2 separate regions of the Homo sapiens genome follow, and region 2 is linked to region 1. The links are contacts of gene promoters, found by promoter capture Hi-C in blood cells and fetal thymus (Javierre and others, 2016). All regions are on one chromosome and are shown on one strand. The core of a region is centred on a gene start or on the middle of the fragment in contact, and the rest is flanking DNA. Distances in the headings are between cores, read along the strand shown. Region 1 holds the start of NEUROD2 (neuronal differentiation 2). Region 2 overlaps PSMD3 (proteasome 26S subunit, non-ATPase 3).

Region 1 (5,791 bases), core at 1,335-3,834:
GGCCCGCTCCCCGCGCCCGGCGCCGGGGTAGGATGGGGGTGTCCCTGCGCTCTGGGGGCTGGGGACAGGGGGGCGGGCAAAGGCAAAAGAAAAAGAAGGGAGCCGGCGCGAAGTCTCAGTTATGAAAAAACGCATTGAGCTCCTCGTACATGGGGCCCCGGTCGTGGTGAAGGTGCATATCGTAAGACAAGAGATTCTCCGAGTGGACGCCCCCGCGCACAGCCGACGAGCCGAAGACTAGCCCGTGGCCCGTGGGCCGCGAACCGGGCAGCGCCGAGTAGTGCATAGAGTAGTGGTAGCTTTTCTCGTGGTCGGGCGAGGAGTCCTGCTTGAGTGAGAAGTTGCCATTGAGACAGAGCGGGGGGCTGAGCGGGCCCTCGTACTCGGAGCTGTTGTAGTCCGGGCTCGCGCCGCCACCGCCTGCCGCCGCATACAGCGTCTCGTAGGCGGCGCAGTAGCCGTGGGTCCGCAGGGCGTGCGCCGCGCCGCCGCCCAGGCCGCCGGCCGCCTGGCACTGTGCGCCCGCCAGGCGCGAGCACGGGTACGGGTAGGGGTGCATGGCGAACGGGCCGCCCGAGCCGTGGAAGCGGCCGGCACCGTCGGCGCCTTGCTCCGTGAGGAAGTTGCGAGAGTTGAGCTGCAGACAGCCGGCCACCAGATTGGTGGTGGGCTGCGACAGACCCTTGCACAGAGTCTGCACGTAGGACACTAGGTCTGGCCGCTTGCCGGAGCGCAGGATCTCCGAGAGCGCCCAGATATAGTTCTTGGCTAGGCGCAGCGTCTCGATCTTGGACAGCTTCTGCGTCTTGGAGTAGCAGGGCACCACCTTGCGCAGGTTGTCCAGGGCTGCGTTCAGGTCGTGCATGCGGTTGCGCTCCCGCGCGTTCGCCTTCTGCCGCCGAAGCTTGGAGCGCTCCAAGCGCGCCTTGGTCATCTTGCGCTTCTTGGGCCCGCGCTTCTTGGGCCGCTCGCCCTCCGCCTCGTCCAGTCCTTCTTCCTCCTCCTCTTCCTCCTCCTCCTCTCCCCCCAGCTCGCCTTCCTCCTTGACCTCGGCCAACGTGGCCTCCGTCCCCTCTTCTCCACGGAGAGGGACTGGCTTGGCCGCCCGGGCTGGCCCCGGAGCCCCTGGCCCGGGCGCAGGCGGTGGCGGTGGCGGCGCGTCGCCCTTGTCGCTCCTCGGCTCGTCGTCTTCGCCGTCGCCCCAGCTGGCGAACTTGGGCACGTCCGAGAGAAGGCCGGGCTCGCTGAACAGGCGGGTCAGCATGGTGCCTGAGGGCGCCCCGCGGGCGGGAAGGGGAGACAGACAGCACAAAGTGAGGGGCGCGCTGGGGTACCGACGCCCCCCCACAACCCTCCTCCACCCCCGAGTCTCGTGCGGGCTCCTGCCTAGGCTACCCTGGATGCCCACCTCCGCCGCCTGCCCCGCCCAGAGCCGGCCCAGCCCTACCCGGCTGCCGGCCTGGGATCTCGGCCCAGGCCCTCTCCCCGGCGCTGGGCCCCGGCTCCGCCCCTCGCTTGAATGGGGGGCTGCTCCCCGCGCCTGCTTCTTCTCAGGGTCAGGGCAGGGACCGGGTGGGGGTTTTAGGGACCAGATATCTTTGCCAGGGGAGGCGGCGCGCTCGCCCTGAAAGCCCGTTCTCTCCTGGCGGTGGAGAGAGGCTGGTCGGCCGCCGGTGGGGACAGCTGCCCCGCTCCGCGCTCTCGCGGCCCGGGCCCCCCGGCCCAGCTCCCTCACCCCTCCCGTGGCTCTCACCCCCACGCTCCCTAATCCAATTTGCAACTTGGCTGCGCGCCGCCCCTTGCTCGGCCCCCACCCCCGCACCCCCAATTCCAGAGGCGGGAGGATCGTCTCCTCTAGCCGATGCGTCCCCAGCTCCCGGAGCCGGCTCTGGGCGGCGAGGACTGAAGCAGCGGGGCGTGGGGAGGAGACTGAGAGAAGCGAGCCCAGTCCGTCCCCTCTGCGGTCAGGGACCCCCTTCCCCCTTCAAGCTGACTCCCTCCCACAAGGCTCTTCAGATCTCGTTGTATTTTGGGATTGATGGGGGAAAAATCCAAATTTGTTTGTTTGCTTCCCTTTTTTCGGTGGTGGGGAAAGGTGGCAGGCTTTTTGGGACAACCATGGAGGGGTCCTCCGTCTCGGCCTCTTCGCATATCCCCCTCCGTGATCCTGCCTTCCCCCCCCACCGAGCCCATCGCAGGCAGAGACACCTCCTCTGCAGCCCCCTGGGCTGCAGCCCCTAAGGGAGAGAGAACCTGGGGCCCCTCCGATGCCCACCCAATGAGGGGGGCATCATCCCAGGAAGGAGGTATTTGAGGACCCTCCTGTCGGCCGAAGCTGCCGCCCCTCCTCCCAACCGGCGGGTCAGATCTCGCTCCCTTTCGGACAACTTACCTCGGAGAGGAGTCAAGGGGAGAGGGGAGGGGAGGGGGGGAGGGGGCAAGAGAGAGAGGGGGGAGAAGAGGGATCTTCTCGCTTATTTCATTGTTCCCCCATCTTCAGGGAGCGGGGGCAGCGGCTCCTCAAGGCGGCGGGCGCCGGCGTCTTCAGAGCGCCATGCGAACCGCGGAGCGAGTGTGGCATCTCTACCAGGCGGGGTACCAGCCTCTATGCCAGGCCATATGGGCTTGGCACGTCACGGGCAGCAGCTATCACATGAGAGACGGTGATTGGCATGCGTCTGCACTGGGGGAGAGCCGGCTCCCCCGGGACCCGCCGCCATCTGTCACTCTCTACTCCAAAAAAAAAAAAAAAAATTAAATAAATAAAGGAAATAAATAAATATTTCTGCCGCCCTCCCCTCCCCGCCCAACGCAGGGAAAGCAGGGATTGAGAGGAAGGTGGGAGGAGTTGCCCCCTGTATATAGAGACCCCCTCACGGGAACAATGGGGTGGCAAGGCTGGACACTGGGGGCTCGTGGTGGCCAATTCTATGCTCCCTCAGGGTCCCGCTCTGTCCATTTCCTCCCCTGCAGGCCCCCAAGGTGGGTCAGGGACCAGACCCCGGGTTGGGGAGAAAGGACCTCTGTGCTTGCCCCCACTCCCCAGGAGGGTCCCCTTGGCCACAAAGGGACAGCTGAGACCCCCTCCCAGGATGGCTGTAAGGGGCGTCCCTGGCCCGAGCCCCATAGGTAGATGTTGGCACCATGCCATCCCTCATCCCTGTCTGCCCCTCCCCCACCCACCCTCACGCACACACAACATATGTGGCTAAACGAAATTCAAACCAAGGGAAAGACAGAGAAAGGGAAAGATGTGCCTGGATGTCTGTGCCTCTGCATGGGCGTGTGTGTGTCTGTGGGGACATGTGTGTATCTGTGGAGTCAGCCGATGGGAGATCTTTCCTTGGTTGTTGGGGGCGTATCCATGTTAGGGTGGAGTGGGGAGGGGCCGCGAGATGAGCCTGTGCACCACCCATCTGGGGGTGGAGGGGAGGGTCTAAGTCTGGATTCCTAACCTAGAAACCTCTCACTCTCCTCCTCCCACTGCCAGACAGGTGACCAGTCCACCAGCGGCTTTCTCTCCTGGTCTTCAGACTTGGTTATTTGAGGGAGGAGGAGCAGGCAGTGCTGAGAACTGCCTAAGTTCCTGGATGAGACTCAAGCATTCTCCTCCCCTTCTGAAAAATCTGAAAATACTGAAGCCAACCCCAGTAATCCCAAGAGTGGCCAAGGGGAGGTAGGTCAGACAGCTGTCTTGATAAGGGAGGTAGGAAGTTGCTGTTTTATCTTGTGGCTCACCTTTCAACACTCTCATTGGGCCAGACACAGATACAAATGGCACAGGTTGAAGAGGTGGCTTTGGACACACACACACACACTCATGCACACACACATACACACACACACGGATGCATACACATGCACACATATACCTGTTCCTCACCCTGTGGTGTAGAAAAATAGATAACATACCCCTACTCAGATAGACACATGTATGTGAGCAGGTAATCACAGCCTGGTGTAGACAGACCCTTGCCCACACCCCATTTGGAGCATTTGTATGTTTTAGACCCACATTTCTGCCCCTCCAGACACTCTAGCTGACATATATACACAACTTCAATTATACTTTCAGCACACACATTTTGATGTCTACCATGTGCCAAGCACTGTGGTGGTACAAAAATGAGCACGGGGAGGCCTTTACCCTCAATCTGGGTGGGCAGGGCTCTCTCCCTCTAGGAGGCTCCCCAGGGACCTTGGGCTGGTAAGACACTGATCTGATGTTGGGTAGGTTGGATTAAGTTCTAAATAGAGACACACATCAGGAGGCCTTGGAGATAGGGGTGCTGGTGCTGCCTGGGACTCTTGAGTCACTTGGCTGGGAGTTGAAAGTAGCCTGAGAATGTACCTCTCCAACTCCTCATCTTACAGAGGCCCATGGAGGGAAACTGACCTGCCTAGGAACACACAGGGGAAACACAGAACTGGGCCTAGAATTCAGGCACTTGACCCACAGACCAGTACTCCACTTATAAGCCCACAATCTGCCTCAGTGGTCTCTAAAAATAAGCCTACCATGCTTCCCTTCATTCACGAATCCTGGGTCTGCAAGGCGAATCCCATCTCTGGCAGATAGTCGTGGTGGGGAGATTCTGGGCATGGCAGAGAAAGAGGCCAAAGGATGGGCTTCAGGTAGGGCAGAGACTCAGGAGTGCTGGCCAGCCTCCACCAAGTTTGGGCACAGCCTCCAAGGCTTTGCAATCCTTTTACTGAAGCAGGGTCCTCAATCCTGACTAGTAGCCTTTTTCCTGGAGTCTCCTGGCTCTGTGATATTTCAATTACATGCCCATGCTCTGGGCTTCTGATTCCTGGCCAACCCCATTACCAACTTAAAAAAATGTTGGTCCCAGCCAGGCATGGTGGCTCACGCCTGTAATCCCAGCACTTTGGGAGGCCGAGGCGGGTGGATCACGAGGTCAGGAGATTGAGATCATCTTGGCTAACACGGTGAAAACCCATCTCTACTAAAAATACAAAAAATTAGCAGGGCATGGTGGCGGGCGCCTGTAGTCCCAGCTACTCGGGAGGCTGAGGCAGGAGAATGGCGTGAACACGGGAGGCGGAGCTTGCAGTGAGCCGAGATCGCACCACTGCACTCCAGCCTGGGCGACAGAGTGAGACTCCGTCTCAAAAAAAAAAAAAAATGAGAGGCCCAGCATGGTAGCTCACACCTGTAATACCAGCAGTTTGGGAGGCTGAGGCCAGCAGATCCCTTCAGCTCACAAGTTCGAGACCAGCCTGGGCAGCATTGTGAAACCCTGCCTCTGCCTAAAAAACAAAAATTAGCCAGGCATGGCGGCGCATGCCTGTAGTTCCAGCTACTCGGGAGGCTGAGGTGAGAGGATCGCTTGAGACCGGGAGGCAGAGGTTGCAGAGAGCTGTGATCACGCCACTGCACTCCAGCCTGGGTGATAGAGCCAGACCTTGTCTCAAAAAAAAAAAAAAAGTGCTGAATGCTTTGAGCAAGTTATATAACATCTCTTGGTCTTGATTTCCTCATCTGTAAGATGGGATAAATTATGCTACACCTTCATAGGGTTGTTGTTAATACTAAATGGGATAATCCATTCCATGAATGAGCCTCCAATAAATGCCAACTCTTAATTAAAACACCTTGGGAACTGTAAAATGCTTTACAATATTAATTTTTTTTGCTCATACCCCTCCCCACACACATTCAGAATGCTTGGTCTATATAGAAATTGAATTTTTGTTGAATTGATGGGCGAGTGAATGGATGAATAAGTGAATAAATGCTTCCTTAGGGGAGAAAGTTTTCTCTCCCTGC
Region 2 (6,109 bases), core at 60-2,559, 380 kb after region 1:
GATCTGCATATAGTAAGCTTTCGTGATATTTTCATAAATGGTAGCTGTTATTATGGACTAATAGCTCCATTTGCAAACTGCACTTCTACCACTCCCCCAGCTAGGGCCAGCTTCTTTGTTCATCATAGCCACTGTCACAGGAGCACACTCAGGAAGTAAGTCGCACTCCTTAATTCCCTGGTTTGTTTCCTTTCCTTACCACACTATTTTTGGTTGTTGTTTGGTTGGGGGTTTTTTTGAGATTGGGTCTTGCTTTGTTGCCCATGCTGGAGGGCAGTGGTGTGATCACAGTTCACTTGACCTCCCCGGCTTAAGTGATCCTTCCACCTCAGCTTCTTGGGTAGCTGGGACTACAGGCATGTGCCACCACGCCCAGCTAATCTTTGCATTTTTTTTGTAGAGACAGGATTTCACCTTCTTGCCAAGCTGGTCTCCAACCCCTGGGCTCAAGTGATTTCCTGGGCTCAGCCTCCCAAAGTGTTAGGGTTACAGGCATGAGCCACTGCGCCTGGCCCACTGTTTTGTTTTTACTGGAGATGGGGTCTTGCTATGTTAACCAAGCTGGTCTTGAACTCCTGGGCTCAGGTAGTCCTCCCGCCTCAGCCTCTCATGTAGCTGGGATTACAGGCACGTGCCACTGTACTTGGCTGTTTGTTTTTGAGATATAATTCACCCCTTTAAAGTGTACTACAGGCCAGGTATGGTGGCTCACGCCTGTAATCCCAGCACCTTGGGAGGCCAAGGCAGGCAGATCATGAGGTCAGACAATCAAGACCATCCTGGCCAACATGGTGAAACCCTGTCTTTACTAAAAATACAAAAAATTAGCCGGGCGTGGTGGTGTGTGCCTGTAGACCCAGCTACTCAGAAGGCTGAGGCAGGGGAATTGCTTGAACCAGGGAGGCGGAGGTTGTGGTGAGCCGGGATTGTGCCACTGCACTCCAGCCTGGTGACAGAGCGAGACTCCGTCAAACAAATAAATAAAGTATACTACAATTGAGTGGGTTTTAGTATATTCCCAAAGTTGTATATCCACCCCTAATTCCAGAACATTTTCATCACCCCACAAAGAAACACCATACGTATTAGTAGTCACTTTTCATTTTCCCCTTACCCAGCCCCTGGCCGCTACTAATCTGCCCTGTCTCTATTGAGGATTTACTTACTCTGGACATTTCATGTAAATGGAATTACACACCGTGTGCCCTTGGTTTCTGGCTTTTTTCACTTAGCATCATGTTTTCAAGGTTGACCCATGTTGTAGTGTGTGTCAGTACTTCCTTCCTTTTTAAGGCTGAGTAATATTCCCTCGTGTGGATGTGCCACATTTTGTTTATCTGTTCATCAGCTGACGGGCACCTGGGTTGTTTCTACTCTTTGGTTATGAATAATGCTTCTGTGAACATTCGTGTACATGCTTTTATGTGAGCCTAAGTTTCCAGTTCTCTTGGCTTGCATACCTAGGATAGGAATTGCTGGCTCAAATGACAACTCCATGTTTATCCTTTTGAGGAACTGCCACTTGATTCTCTTTTGGCTTCCTCCCCAGGCACAGAAGATCTCTGATGATCTGATGCAGAAGATCAGTACTCAGAACCGCCGGGCCCTAGACCTTGTAGCCGCAAAGTGTTACTATTATCACGCCCGGGTCTATGAGTTCCTGGACAAGCTGGATGTGGTGCGCAGGTACAGGCAGCCAAGCATCTCACTTGGGGTCCGTGGGGTCAGAGACTTGGTCAGTCACAAGCACACAGCTGTGGATCTGCAGAGGGCGAAGAACCTGTAGATGTAAGCAGGGAAGAGGGGCAGTGGTTCCCATGCCCTGCGCCACGTGAGGGGTGTGGGAGAGAGACTGGTGCTAGATGAAGAAGTGGGTCACTGCTGGGCTGTAAAGAACTGTCCCCAGGTTCTTCCCTTCACCCCACATCAAGGTAGGACTGAGGGTGGGTTAGGGGTGGAGGGACAGGCTAGAAAACATTTTACTTCTTTGCTCAAAACCTGCAGTGGCTTCCCGTCTCAAGGAAAGACAAAGTCCTTACAATACCTCATAAGGCCTGACGTGATCTGCTCCATTTTGACCTCCCAGACTTCACCTCCTCCTGCTCCTCAGCCCCACTGGCCTGCCTTTCCTCTGGTGTGCCCGGCACACTCTTCTTCAGAGCCTTTGCACTGGCTGCCCCTCTGTCCAGAACACTCTTCTCTCCGCCTCCTTCAAGCCTTCCCTTAACTGATCCCTTCTCAGTGAGTCCTGCCTTGGCCAAGCTATTGAAAAGTTCAACTCATCTTTCTCACGTCCTGCATTCCCCATTGCAGTTCCCCTGGCCTCACAGGCCTCCCATCTTCTGTCACACTGCAGGCTGTGCTTCTTTCTCATGACCATTGCCTCCCCCACTGCACTGCATTCCCTAAGGGCAGGGTTTTGTCCCTTTGTCGCACCCAGAATAGTGCTGTACACCTTAGGCACTCGATAGTTAACAGTATTCAGCAAATAACCAGAAAAGCAATTTGTATAACTTTTTTAAGGAATTGAGAAAGAGCGAAGAGTTAAAGGCAGTTCAGAGAGTTGTGATTTGAAGGCTTTGACATCTTTCTTTCCTTCTTGAAGCTTCTTGCATGCTCGGCTCCGGACAGCTACGCTTCGGCATGACGCAGACGGGCAGGCCACCCTGTTGAACCTCCTGCTGCGGAATTACCTACACTACAGCTTGTACGACCAGGCTGAGAAGCTGGTGTCCAAGTCTGTGTTCCCAGAGCAGGCCAACAACAATGAGTGGGCCAGGTACCTCTACTACACAGGTGAGCAGAGGGGCCCAACCCATAAATCAGAAGGTGTCTCAGGCCTGCCTGGTGCAAATTTTCCAAGGGGTGGTGCATAAGAGGCCCATTTGGCACCCTGGCTTGTCGGTGGGGAGTTGGATGACCCTACTCTGTTGACCAACTCTCCTCTCCTCCACTCCCAGGGCGAATCAAAGCCATCCAGCTGGAGTACTCAGAGGCCCGGAGAACGATGACCAACGCCCTTCGCAAGGCCCCTCAGCACACAGCTGTCGGCTTCAAACAGACGGTGAGCCACAACTACCATCATCCCTTTGCCTCTTTTTTTTTTTTTTTTTTAAATGGTGTCTTGCTATGTTACCTGGGCTGGTCTTGAACTCCTGGGTTCAAGAAGTCCTCCCACCTCAGCTTCCCAAAGTGCTGGGATCACAGGTATGAGCCACCATGCCTGGCCCCTTTGCCTGTTACTCATTCCCTACCACTTCAGTTCTCTTCTCTATGCTAGGGGCTAGGAAAGGCATCCTTAACCTTCCTATCCAGAAGGACTTCAACTTTTATTATTATTTTTTGTGTGTGTGGAGACAGGCATATCACTGTTGCTCAGGTGAGAACTCCTGGGCTCAAGCAATCCTTCGGCCTCTGCCTCCCTAAGTGCTGAGATTGCAGGTGCGAGCTGCCATGTCTGCAAAAGGTTGCTTCACATCTATTTGTGGGTGTCAATGAAGCAGACACTACCTGCACCTCTGGCAGTGGATATTCAGAGTGTTTCTGGCAGATAGGTTTAGAATATTCCTGATTCCCCAGCGCTCCTGACAGTCATTCCAGGCTTGGACCTAGATTGTGTTGATACAAACCCCAGGTTTTTATCTAGTCCTTCATGTTCACATTTGGAAACTGTATTGTCTGTGGCCAAGGAACCCAGAAAATCTCTGCAAGGCTGAGTGGCTCAAGTAAACATAAAACTTGGCCACTTAAGAGCTGTCAGTCAGCAAGTATTTAAGCATCAACCTTGGTATTAGGCACTGTAAGGGATAGGAAGGGAGGATAATAAGTGATCTTTCTTTCTTTTCTTTCGTTTTTTGTTTTCTGAGACAGAGTCTCCCTCTGTCACTCAGGCTGGAGTGCAATGGCACGATCTTTTCTCACTGCAACCTCTGCCTCCCGAGTTCAAGTGATTCTCCTGCCTCAGCTTCCTCAGTAGCTGGGCAGGCGCCTGCCACCACATCCAACTAATTTTTTTGTTTGTTTTTTTGGTTCTTTTTTTTGAAACGGAGTCTTGCTCTGTCTCCCAGGCTGGAGACAGAGGTGCCATCTTGGCTCACTGCAACCCCTGTCTTTGGGGTTCAAGGGATTCTCCTGCCTCAGCCTCCCGAGTAACTGGGATTACAGGCGCCTGCCACCACGCCCAGCTAATTTTTTGTATTTTTAGTAGAGATGGGGTTTCACCATGTTGGCCAGGCTGGTCTCGAACTCCTGACCTCAAGTGATCCACCCACCTCAGCCTCCCAAAGTCCTGGGATTACAGGCGTGAGCCACCGCTCCAGGCCAGGTATTTCTTATTATTAGAGTATTTCAAAGAGATAAAGAATGTTGTGTCAGAAAGCTTGAGGGTGTATGTGAAGTCACAGAGCCCAGTAGCCAGGATGTAGACCCAGTCTTCCCAAATTCAAACCTCTGCTCCTACCTTCACACAACATCCACCTCCATGGTGTCTTGACAGGGAACGGGAGACGTGTGTTGATTAGGTCAATGTAGTAGGAGATTCATTTTATTTCTGTTCAGAAGTTCAGAGAAAGTCAGATTTGTTTTTGATCAAATAATGAAAGAGAAAGGGTCTTAAAGAAAAAGTTGGCTAGGTACAGGGCTCACACCTGTAATCCTAGCACTTTGGGAGGCTGTGGCAAGAGGATTGCTTGAGACCAACCTGAGCAACATATGGAGACACCGCCTCTGCAAAAATTAAAAACCTAGCTGGGCGTGATGGCATGCACCTGTAGTCCCAGCTACTTGGGAGGCTGAGGTGCAAGGATCACTTGGGCCCAGGAAGTCGAGGCTGCAGTGAGCCATGATCGTGCCACTGCACTGCAGCCTGGGCGACAGAGCAAGACTCTGTCTCAAAAAAAAACAAACATTAAAATTGAACTGGTCTTTGAAAGATGGGTAGGATTTTCACAAGGAGTAAAGGCTTTTCAGACACACAGGGTGCGTGAGCAAAATGTTAGATTGCTTACAATATGAGAGACACTAAAGTTTCTTTTGAAAATCACTAAAAATACTAGTAATTAACATATATAAAATGTGTCATGTACCATGAGAGAGGCTTTCAGGCATTTAAATCTCAGTGGCAGGAAGGCGTAGAGAGCTGGAAGAGAGGTCTCGGGCTGTTGGTGAGGGAGCGCAGGGAGAGAGAGGGCGGGAGTGAAGGCATGTTTGGGAGAAGGCCTGCAACCAGCCCTCTGCCCTCTGCCCTCACACACCTTTGCCGTACCCCTGTCACCACCCAGCTTACAGAATCACCTGGGGCTCTGATGAAGCTGTAGATTCCGATTCAGAGAGTCTGTGTTCCTAACAGGCCTTGGGTGATGCCAGTGCTGCTGGTGGCACAGAGCGCTCTGAGGAGGGCGGTGCTGGCTCATCCTGTTCAAAGCGGAGGTCAGCTAGCATTCATTCCTGCAGCCACCTTGTCTCTTGTAAACTTGAATGTCTCTCTCCGCCCATTTTCACCCTCCCTGTCTTTACTTAACACCAGCTTCACTACCTGTGTTTTCCATCACACTCCTTCCTCTCTCTTCTAGCCTTGGCCCATCACCTGTTTGCTTCAGTCTCCGGGAAGAAAACCCCCAGCCCTGCTGCTTCCTCTCTCAGGCGGCCGTTCCTGTCTCCCCTGGCTCCCTCCCCAACAGTGCACTGGCCAGCCCCTTCCCTCCAGTGTTCTCTCTGCTCCTTCTCACCACCTGGGCCTCAGCAGAGCACTCTGAGAGCTTCTCTGTCGATAGTAAAACCCTCATTCTCTCCTTGAGTGACCTTGTTTGCTTTCCCAGCTTCAGCGCTCGCCTGCATGATGCTCTTCAGCCTGTACATTACTAACTCCGTTACTCTGCTGGCACTGCCACCGCAAGGTCCCACAGACTTGGCGGCTTAAACAACCGAAATTGATTTCATCACAATTCTGGAGGCTCTAAGTCCAACAGCAAAGTGTGACACGATTGGTTTCTTCTGAGGGCCTCTCTCGTCTGCTTGTCGATGGCCGTCTCCTGGTGTTTTCACATGGTCTTCCCTCTGTGCGTGTCTGTGTCCTGCTTTTGTCTTAGAAGGACAATAGTCATGTAGGATT

The links. The method cuts DNA at HindIII sites, captures the fragments that hold promoters and counts their contacts. A CHiCAGO score of 5 or more calls a contact.
Region 2: a fragment that was not itself captured here is called in contact with the fragment with the promoter of NEUROD2 in region 1 in 1 of 17 cell types (naive B cells); the score reaches 5.2 in naive B cells.

The regions. Positions count from the first base shown.
Region 1 is chr17:39,605,336-39,611,126 of GRCh38, forward strand. It overlaps NEUROD2 (neuronal differentiation 2), which reads right to left and starts at 2,585. Exons shown (of 2, transcript NM_006160.4): 1 at 2,393-2,585; 2 at 1-1,269. The coding sequence starts at 1,264. The coding sequence ends at 116. The HindIII fragment of the contact is 7,147 bases long and covers 903-5,791 here.
Region 2 is chr17:39,987,134-39,993,242 of GRCh38, forward strand. PSMD3 (proteasome 26S subunit, non-ATPase 3) reads left to right here. Exons shown (of 12, transcript NM_002809.4): 4 at 1,550-1,686; 5 at 2,606-2,796; 6 at 2,961-3,064. It overlaps LOC124904000 (a long non-coding RNA gene), which reads right to left. Exons shown (of 3, transcript XR_007065751.1): 1 at 4,460-6,109; 2 at 1,461-1,762. Among named protein-coding and RNA genes, the nearest start is that of PSMD3, 9.4 kb to the left of the region's middle. RefSeq lists a silencer at 5,124-5,301. The HindIII fragment of the contact is 2,588 bases long and covers 16-2,603 here.